Regions from separate parts of the Homo sapiens genome. Here regions 2 and 3 are each linked to region 1. Evidence: promoter capture Hi-C in human tissues and cell types (Jung and others, 2019). All regions are on one chromosome and are shown on one strand. The core of a region is centred on a gene start or on the middle of the fragment in contact, and the rest is flanking DNA. Distances in the headings are between cores, read along the strand shown. Region 1 holds the start of FCHO1 (FCH and mu domain containing endocytic adaptor 1). Region 2 holds the start of PLVAP (plasmalemma vesicle associated protein). Region 3 holds the start of IL12RB1 (interleukin 12 receptor subunit beta 1).

Region 1 (2,542 bases), core at 16-2,515:
CATCTCTGGGCTTTGTGCTGGTACTGTACAGGCTGGGAGACTTGGGTTCTAGCAGGGCTGACTTCTCCATCAGACCCAAAATGCCCAGTGTCTCAGGCTCACAGTGCTTTTAGGGGTCCCTAGGTTGATGTTTTCACTTCTTTTAAAATCCAAAGGGAAAAAAATGAACTCTTGGGTTGAAGGAAACATTTTTGTGTATAATATTAATATATTTGTCTTTATGTCAATGTAGTTGTAAAATACAGTTTTGTTTTGTTTTGTTTTTGAGACAGAGTCTCTCTCTGTCACCCAGGCTGGAGTGCAGTGGCTCGATCTCCGCTCACTGCAACCTCCATCTCCTGGGTTCAAGCGATTCTCCTGCCTCAGCCTCCCGAGTAGCTGGGATTACAGGCATATGCCACCCCACCCAGCTAACTTTTGTATTTTTAGTAGAGACGGGGTTTTACCATGTTGCCCAGGCTGTTCTCGCACTCCTGGGCTCAAGCAATCCACCTGCCTCGGCCTCCCAAAGTGCTGGGATTCCAGGCATCAGCCACCACCTAAAATATAATTTTAAATTTCTTTTGTAGTGAAGGAAAGCGCTCATGAATGCAAAAATGTCTTCCCCTTTCTTTTCTTTTTTTTTTTTTTTTGAGATGGAGTCTCGCTCTGTCGCCAGGCTGGAGTGCAGTGGCGCAATCTCGGCTCACTGCAACCTCTGGCTCACTGCAACCTCCACCTCCCGGGTTCAAGTGATTCTCCTGCCTCAGCCTCCTGAGTAGCTGGGACTACAGGCATGGGCCACCACGCCCAGCTAATTTTTGTATTTTTAGTAGAGACGGGGTTTCACCGTGTTGGCCAGGATAGTGTCAACCTCTTGACCTCGTGATCCACCCACCTTGGCCTCTCAAAGTGCTGGGATTACAGGCGTGAGCCACCGCGCCTGGCCATGTCTTCCCCTTTCTGAGCGCATTTCCCTCTCTGAGCCTCAGTTTGCCCAGTCTGTGAAGTGGGTATCGGCCTACCTCAGGATGGCAAGATGTTGAATGCCTGGGCCAGGGTTGGTGCTCAGTTATTTCCCAATTGCCATGATTAATATTTGTTCGGTAAGAACAGCTCCAGGTTCAGGCCGGGGGGCTCCAGGTTCAAGCGCCTCTTGTTTACTCACCCATGGCCTGTGTGGTTCCAGGGAGGTCCCATGGGTGCTGATCGGGCGGGGGAGGAAAGGTGGCGGTTGGATGGTAGGCGGGGCGGGGTGAGCTTCCTGTCCCCCCCCCAACCCATGCACACAAGCCTCCAACTTGGTGCTGACGGAAGTGGCCTCGTGGCTGTCTCCTGGCGCCTGCCCCGTCAGACAGGGGCCCCATCCCACTCGCTACCCTGTCCGGTGAGTTTGAGCCCTGGCCAGTAGATACCCATCATCTCGCCTTGGCCCCCCTCAGGAACAGAGGGGAGGCCCCCCTGCCCGGAGCCTGGGTTTCAGGAGAAGTAGCAGGTGTCACTTCCTGGGCTGGCCAAAGCCTGCATGGGGCCACCCGTTGCCCTGCCCCCCGTCCCCCATTCCAGCTGTGAGTGGTGGTTTGGGTTAGGGGGGCGGCAAGGGGAGCTTGGAAACCCAGAGAGCCACGCGTGATGGTTTCAAACAGGAGGTCATTGGCAGACAGACCAGGGGCAAAATCACAGTCAGCCGGGACCAATGATTGATCTCTCTGTGCCTCGGTTTCCTTCATAAAGTTGGGGTTGCCTCTGAGGGCATGGCATGAAGATTGGATGAGCAGATGCGTGTGAATAGTTGGGTACAGGGTCGCACACATACTGGTGCTCCATGTGTATCTGTCTGCCAGAGGTGGGGTGAGGCAATCTAATTGAAACTGTGAAAACAGTAGTGAGATTCTTGGTTTCTGGGGAACTTGGGCTCCTTGGTTCCTGGGATCTTCTAGAACAATGTTGGCCATCCAATACAGCAGCCATCAGCCCCATGTAGCTACTGAGCCTTGGAAGAGAGGCTGGCACAGCTGAGGAGCTGGGCATATAATTGTATGTATGTATGTATGTATGTATGTATGTATTTAATTATTATTTTTTTAAGACAGAATCTCACTCTTTCAACCAGGTTGGAGTGCAGTGGGGCAATCTTGGCTCACTACAACCTCCGCCTCCCAGGTTCAAGTGATTCTCCTGCCTCATCCTCCCAAGTAGCTGGGACTACAGGTGTGTGCCACCACGCCCTGCTGATTTTTATATTTTTTGGTAGAGATGGGGTTTCACCATGTTGGCCAGGCAGGTCTCGAACTCCTGACCTCAAGTGATCCACCCACCTCGGCCTCCCAAAGTGCTGGGATTACAGGCGTGAGCCACTGCGCCCAGCCAATTGTATTTAATTTTACTTGGTTTAACATTAATACAAAAATTAATACAAAAATTAAGGCCAGGGGTTGTGGCTCATGGCTGTAATCCCAGCACTTTGGGGGTCCCAGGCAGGAGGATGGCTTGAGCTCAGGAGTTCGAGACTGGCCTGGGCCACACTAGTGAGACCTAGTCTCTACAAAAAAAAAAAAAAAAA
Region 2 (2,542 bases), core at 22-2,521, 370 kb before region 1:
AAAAGGCTGAGGCAGGAGGATTGCTGGAGCCCAGGATGTCAAGGCTTCAGTGAGCTATGCTCACATCACTGTGCTCCAGCCTGGGTGACAGAGTGAGACCCTGCCTCCAAAAAAAAGAAAAGAAATAAAAAAAATTTAGCTGGACGCAGTGCCCCACACCTGTAATCCCAGCAGTTTGGGAGGCTGGGGTGAGAGGATTGCTTGAGCCCAGGAGTTCGAGACTAGCCTGGGCAACATAGTGAGACCTCATCTCTGCTAAATATAAACATATTAGCTGGGTGTGGTGGTGCACGCCTGTAGTCCCAGCTACTCAGGAGGCTGAGGCAAGAGGATCACTTGAGTCCAGGAGATTGAGGTTGCAGTGAGCTGTGATAGCAATTGCACTCCATCCAGCCCAGGATACACATGGAGACCCTGTCTCTTAAGGAAAAAAAAAAAATCTATCGGCCGGGTGCAGTGGCTCACGCTTGTAATCCCAACAATTTGGGAGGCCAAGGCAGGCGTATCACTTGAGGTCAGGAGTTTGAGACCAGCCTGGCCAACATGGTGAAACCCCATCTCTACTAAAAATACAAAAATGAGCCGGTTATGATGGCACATGCCTGTAATCCCAGCTACTCGGGAGGCTGAGGCAGGAGAATCACTCCAACCCAGGAGGCAGAGGTTGCAGTGAGCCGAGATTGCACCACTGCACTCCAGCCTGGGAGACGGAGCGAGACTCTGTCTCATAAGAAAAGAGAGCATTGGTCCTGTGATCGTCCCCCTCTCTTGGATGAGGAAACTCAGGCTCAGAGAGGTGAGGGGGCTTGCTCAGGGTCCCCAGGGCGAGTGTCCTGCCCACAGCCTTACCCGGTCACCCTGGCACTGGCGGAAGCTGGCATTGATGCGGTCCAGGTCGCGGCGAGCATTCAGCCACATCTGCATGATGGCATCCTTGGCGCGGGTGGTGAAGTTGAGCTCCTTGGTCAAGTTGGACTGGGAGGCCGTGAGCCCTAGGAGCTGACTGTATAGGCCCTCGGCTCGGCGCTCGGTGGCCTGCAGGTTGGACTCTGTGCTCACGTGCACGTTGCCATAGACCATGAAGAGCACGAGCCCCAGGATGATGAGGAATTGGATGAGGGAGACGAAGAGGAAGAAGTAGCGCAGGTAATACCAGCAGCCCCGAGAGCTGCCCCCCGCCCGAGCGTAGGACCCTCCGTGCTCCATGGCCAGACCCATTTGCTCGATCCCGCCGTCCGGTGCACCGTCCCTGCTCACCACCAGGCCTGCTCTGGCCCCCGCCTCGCAGGGGGGAGTGCTTATATTACTCCTCTTAATACTTCCTCTGCCTGGCTCCTTCCTGGCCCGGAGGAAACGGGGGCTGCGGGTTATCACAACACTCCCACTCTGGCTGTGAGAAGGCGGGGGTGGGGCTGGGGGCCCAGAGCCAGGGCACCGGCTGGACCCCTCTGATTAATGCTGGGTGGGGCGCTGGCTGGCTGGTCAGGCATTCCTGGCCTCTTCGAGCCTCGCGTTCGCCTTTACTTGCTGGCGGGTGCTGTTCTCAGTACCTGCTGTGATTAGGTCGCTGAATCATGCCAGGTCTGTTGCTGTCTCCCTTGTGTGGCGGAGGAAACTGAGGCACAGGGAGGAGAAGGGGTTGCCTCGGGGTCTCACGCTGTTAGTTCAGCGAACTTGACTTACCTCAAGACAGGCTGGCTACAGACGTGCACCCACTTCACCAGGGCGGTGCTGATTAAGTGCCACAAAACGTGGGAAATGTGCCAGGCACGGTGGCTCACGCCTATAATCCCAGCACTTTGGGAGGCTGAGGCGGACGGATCACCTGAGGTCAGAAGTTTGAGACCAACCCGGTCACCGTGGTGAAACCCCCCGTCTCTACTAAAAATACAAAACTTAGCCAGGTGTGGTGGTGCTCGCCTGTAATTCCAGCTACCCAGGAGGCTGAGGCAGGAGAATCGCTTGAACCCAGGAGTCGGAGGTTGCGGTGAGCAGAGATCGTGCCATTGCACTCCAGCCTGGGGTATAGAGCAAGACTCTGTTTCAAAAAAAAAAAAAAACAGAAAAAGTGTGAAACTCTTAGCTAGCCTAGGGATGGAGAAGCAGTAGGTGATTAGTAATTGCATAGGAGGGCGTCACGGAGGGCTGAGCCATGGATGGCGGTGGCGCTGGCTCCCCAAGCTCTGTCATTGCCCCCAGTGCCCTGTTCACTTAGATGCTCAGTAAATGCTCCAGGAAACTGCAGCACAAGGAATAATGAACTTGGAGCGGGGAAGAGCTGGCTTTGTCCCGGGAGAGCTCGGGCAAGAGGCCTCGCATGTCTGTGCCTCCCTTTTCCCCTTTGTGAGACGGGGTATACCCAGTGCCTCGTCACTCTGTGGCTGTTGTTATGATTAGGATCATTTCCTGCTGGAGGCACTGCTGGGGGCTCCGTGAGATGGTGAATGACAAGTGGTGGATACGTGGGACTGAGATTCCTCCCCCGACACTCAAAACCCCATGGGCGGCCGGGCATAGTGGCTCACACCTGTAATCTCAGCAC
Region 3 (2,542 bases), core at 28-2,527, 340 kb after region 1:
TGGAATGCAGTGCTGCAATCTCGGCTCACTGCAACCTCTGCCTCCTGGGTTCAAGCGATCCTCCCACCTCAGCTCCTAAGTAGCTGGGAGTACAGGTGCCCATCATCAAGCCTGGCTAATTTTTGCATTTTTAGTAGAGATGGGGTTTCACCATGTTAGCCAGGCTGGTCTCGAACTCCTGACCTCAAGTGATCCACCCATCTTGGCCTCCCATAGTGCTGGATTTTCAGGAGTGAGTCACCGTGCAGGGCCTGAGATTATTAAAAGTATATGGGAAGGCTGGGCATGGTGGCTCATGCCTGTAATCTGAGCACTTTGGGAGGCCAAGGTGAGTGGATCATTTGAGCCCAGGAGTTCGAGACCAGCCTGGGCAACACAGCGAGACGCTGTCTCTGTAAAAAGTATACACCAAAAAAATTAACCAGGCATGGTAGTGTGCACCTGCAGTCCCAGCTACTCAAGGGGCTAAGGCAGGAGGATCACTTGAGCCCAGGTGGTCAAGGCTGCAATGAGTTATGATTAGGCCACTGCACTCCAGCCTGGGACACAGAGTGAGACCCTACCTCAGTAAATAAATAAATAAATAAATAAATAAATAAATAAATAAATAAATAAGTAAAGTATACGGAAGGATGTGCATAGGTTATATGCAAATACTTTACCATTTTATATCAGGAACTTGAGCATCTTTGGATTTTGGTATCTGCAGAGGGTCCTGGAACCATTGCCCCGTAAATATGGAAATGACTGTATACATTATATTATGTATGTCTATCTATTGTAAACTACATACATAAGATACTATACTATGTATACCTATTAGATACATACTTGCTTTTTATTCCTTCCTTAGTTTTTTTTCTCATTGAACTCCGGGAGGTGGAAAAAATTTAGTGCATTTCACAGAAGAGAAAATCTAGACCAGAGGAAAGATGTCTAAGTTCGATCCCAGAAGCCATGACTGCCCATCTCCCATTTGACAGCAGGAAAGACTGAGGCACAGAGAGATGAAACCAACCCACACAGCAGGCCCACAGCTCTCCACACATACACGTGCCTCCACCCAGCAAGAGGAGCCGCCATGCCAGGGTCAGGGGACTCACCGCCCTGCCTGGACAGCAGGAAGAGGAAGAGGAGGGGGACCACCCAGGTCACCAGCGGCTCCATCGGATCCACGTAGAGCCCCACAGCCCCAGGGGAGCCTCTCTGCCACCTGCGAGGTTCAGCCACCCCGTCCCCACTCCGGAACACATTGAAGCTGAGCAAGGAGAAAAGACTGAAAAAAAAGAAAAAAGAAAAAAAGTAAAGTGTCACAGCCCATCCCTAAGGCAAGTCAAAGTGAAAGAGAAACCCAGGAAGTCAGCTCCGTGGTGGTGGTGATGGTGGCGGCCACAGACTCTGGAGCAAGTCTGACTTTGGAGCAAGTCAGGGTTCTAGGGGGTTCTGCCCTGCTGGCCCCAGACCTGAACTGAACACCCAGATGCCAGCCCCATGGGCCCATGGGCCACCTGTGGTTCCATGCACTTGGCCAGGTCTCTGGCCCTCTCTAGCCAATTTTTTTTTTTTTTTTTGAGATGGAGCCCTGCTCTGTCGCCCGGGCTGGAGTGTGGTGGCATGATCTCCACTCACTGCAACTTCTGCCTCCCGGGTTCAAGCAATTCTCCTGCCTCAGCCTCCCGAGTAGCTGGAATTACAGGCAACTGCCACAACATCGAGCTAATTTTTGTATTTTTAGTAGAGACAGGGTTTCACCATGCTGGCCAGGCTGGTCTCGAACTCCTAACCCTAAGTGATCCACCCACCTCAGCCTCCCAAAGTGCTGGGATGACAGGCGTGAGCTACCGTGCCTGGCTGCCAAATTCTTTTTTTCTTCTTTTGAGATAGGGTCTTGATCTGTGGCCCAGCTGTAGTGCAGTGGTGCAATCACGGCTCACTGCAACATCAACCTCCCCAGGCTCAGGCCATCCTCCTACCTCAGCCTCCCCAGGAACTGGGACTACAGGCATGCACCACCACGCCCAGCTAATTTTTGCATTTTTTTTTTTTTAAGAGAGGGGGTTTTGCCATGTTGCCCAGGCTGGTCTCAAACTCCCGGGTTCAAATGATCCGTCCGCCTTGGCCTACCAAAATTCTGGGATCACAGGCGTGAGCCACCGCACCGGGCCATCTCGCCAGCTTCTGAATCTGAGACTCAAGAGCTGAAGGAGGGCAGTGTTCTTGGATGGCCTAATTTCATCCTTCCAACAAATTGTTACAAAGAGCTTGCAGCATGCTGGCCCTCCACAATGCCCACCTCCCCACATGCCAAGCTCCAGCCTTGTGCACCTGGGCTCACCCCTCTAATCCCAGCACTTTGAGAGGTCGAGGTGGGAGGATCACTTGACCCCAGGAGTTTGGGTCTACCTAAACAACATAGCAAGACCCCATCTCTATAAAAAATAAAGAATTAGGCCAGGCGCGGTGGCTCACGCCTGTAATCCCAGTACTTTGGGAGGCCAAGGCAGGTGGATCACGAGGTCAGGAGTTTGAGACCAGCCTGACC

Evidence for each region. The method cuts DNA at HindIII sites, captures the fragments that hold promoters and counts their contacts. A contact is called where the count stands out against the background at its distance.
Region 2: the fragment with the promoter of PLVAP here is called in contact with the fragment with the promoter of FCHO1 in region 1 in 2 of the 25 tissues and cell types used here (spleen and stomach).
Region 3: the fragment with the promoter of IL12RB1 here is called in contact with the fragment with the promoter of FCHO1 in region 1 in 1 of the 25 tissues and cell types used here (H1 embryonic stem cells).

What each region holds. Positions count from the first base shown.
Region 1 is chr19:17,750,212-17,752,753 of GRCh38, forward strand. It overlaps FCHO1 (FCH and mu domain containing endocytic adaptor 1), which reads left to right and starts at 1,266. Exons shown (of 29, transcript NM_015122.3): 1 at 1,266-1,366. FCHO1-AS1 (FCHO1 antisense RNA 1) reads right to left here and starts at 1,186. Exons shown (of 5, transcript XR_007067152.1): 1 at 1,005-1,186; 2 at 447-539. The HindIII fragment of the contact is 16,973 bases long and covers 1-2,542 here.
Region 2 is chr19:17,376,071-17,378,612 of GRCh38, forward strand. It overlaps PLVAP (plasmalemma vesicle associated protein), which reads right to left and starts at 1,272. Exons shown (of 6, transcript NM_031310.3): 1 at 850-1,272. The coding sequence starts at 1,218. The HindIII fragment of the contact is 34,336 bases long and covers 1-2,542 here.
Region 3 is chr19:18,085,657-18,088,198 of GRCh38, forward strand. IL12RB1 (interleukin 12 receptor subunit beta 1) reads right to left here and starts at 1,278. Exons shown (of 17, transcript NM_005535.3): 1 at 1,104-1,278. The coding sequence starts at 1,167. RefSeq lists enhancers at 1,190-1,539, 1,550-1,609. The HindIII fragment of the contact is 62,137 bases long and covers 1-2,542 here.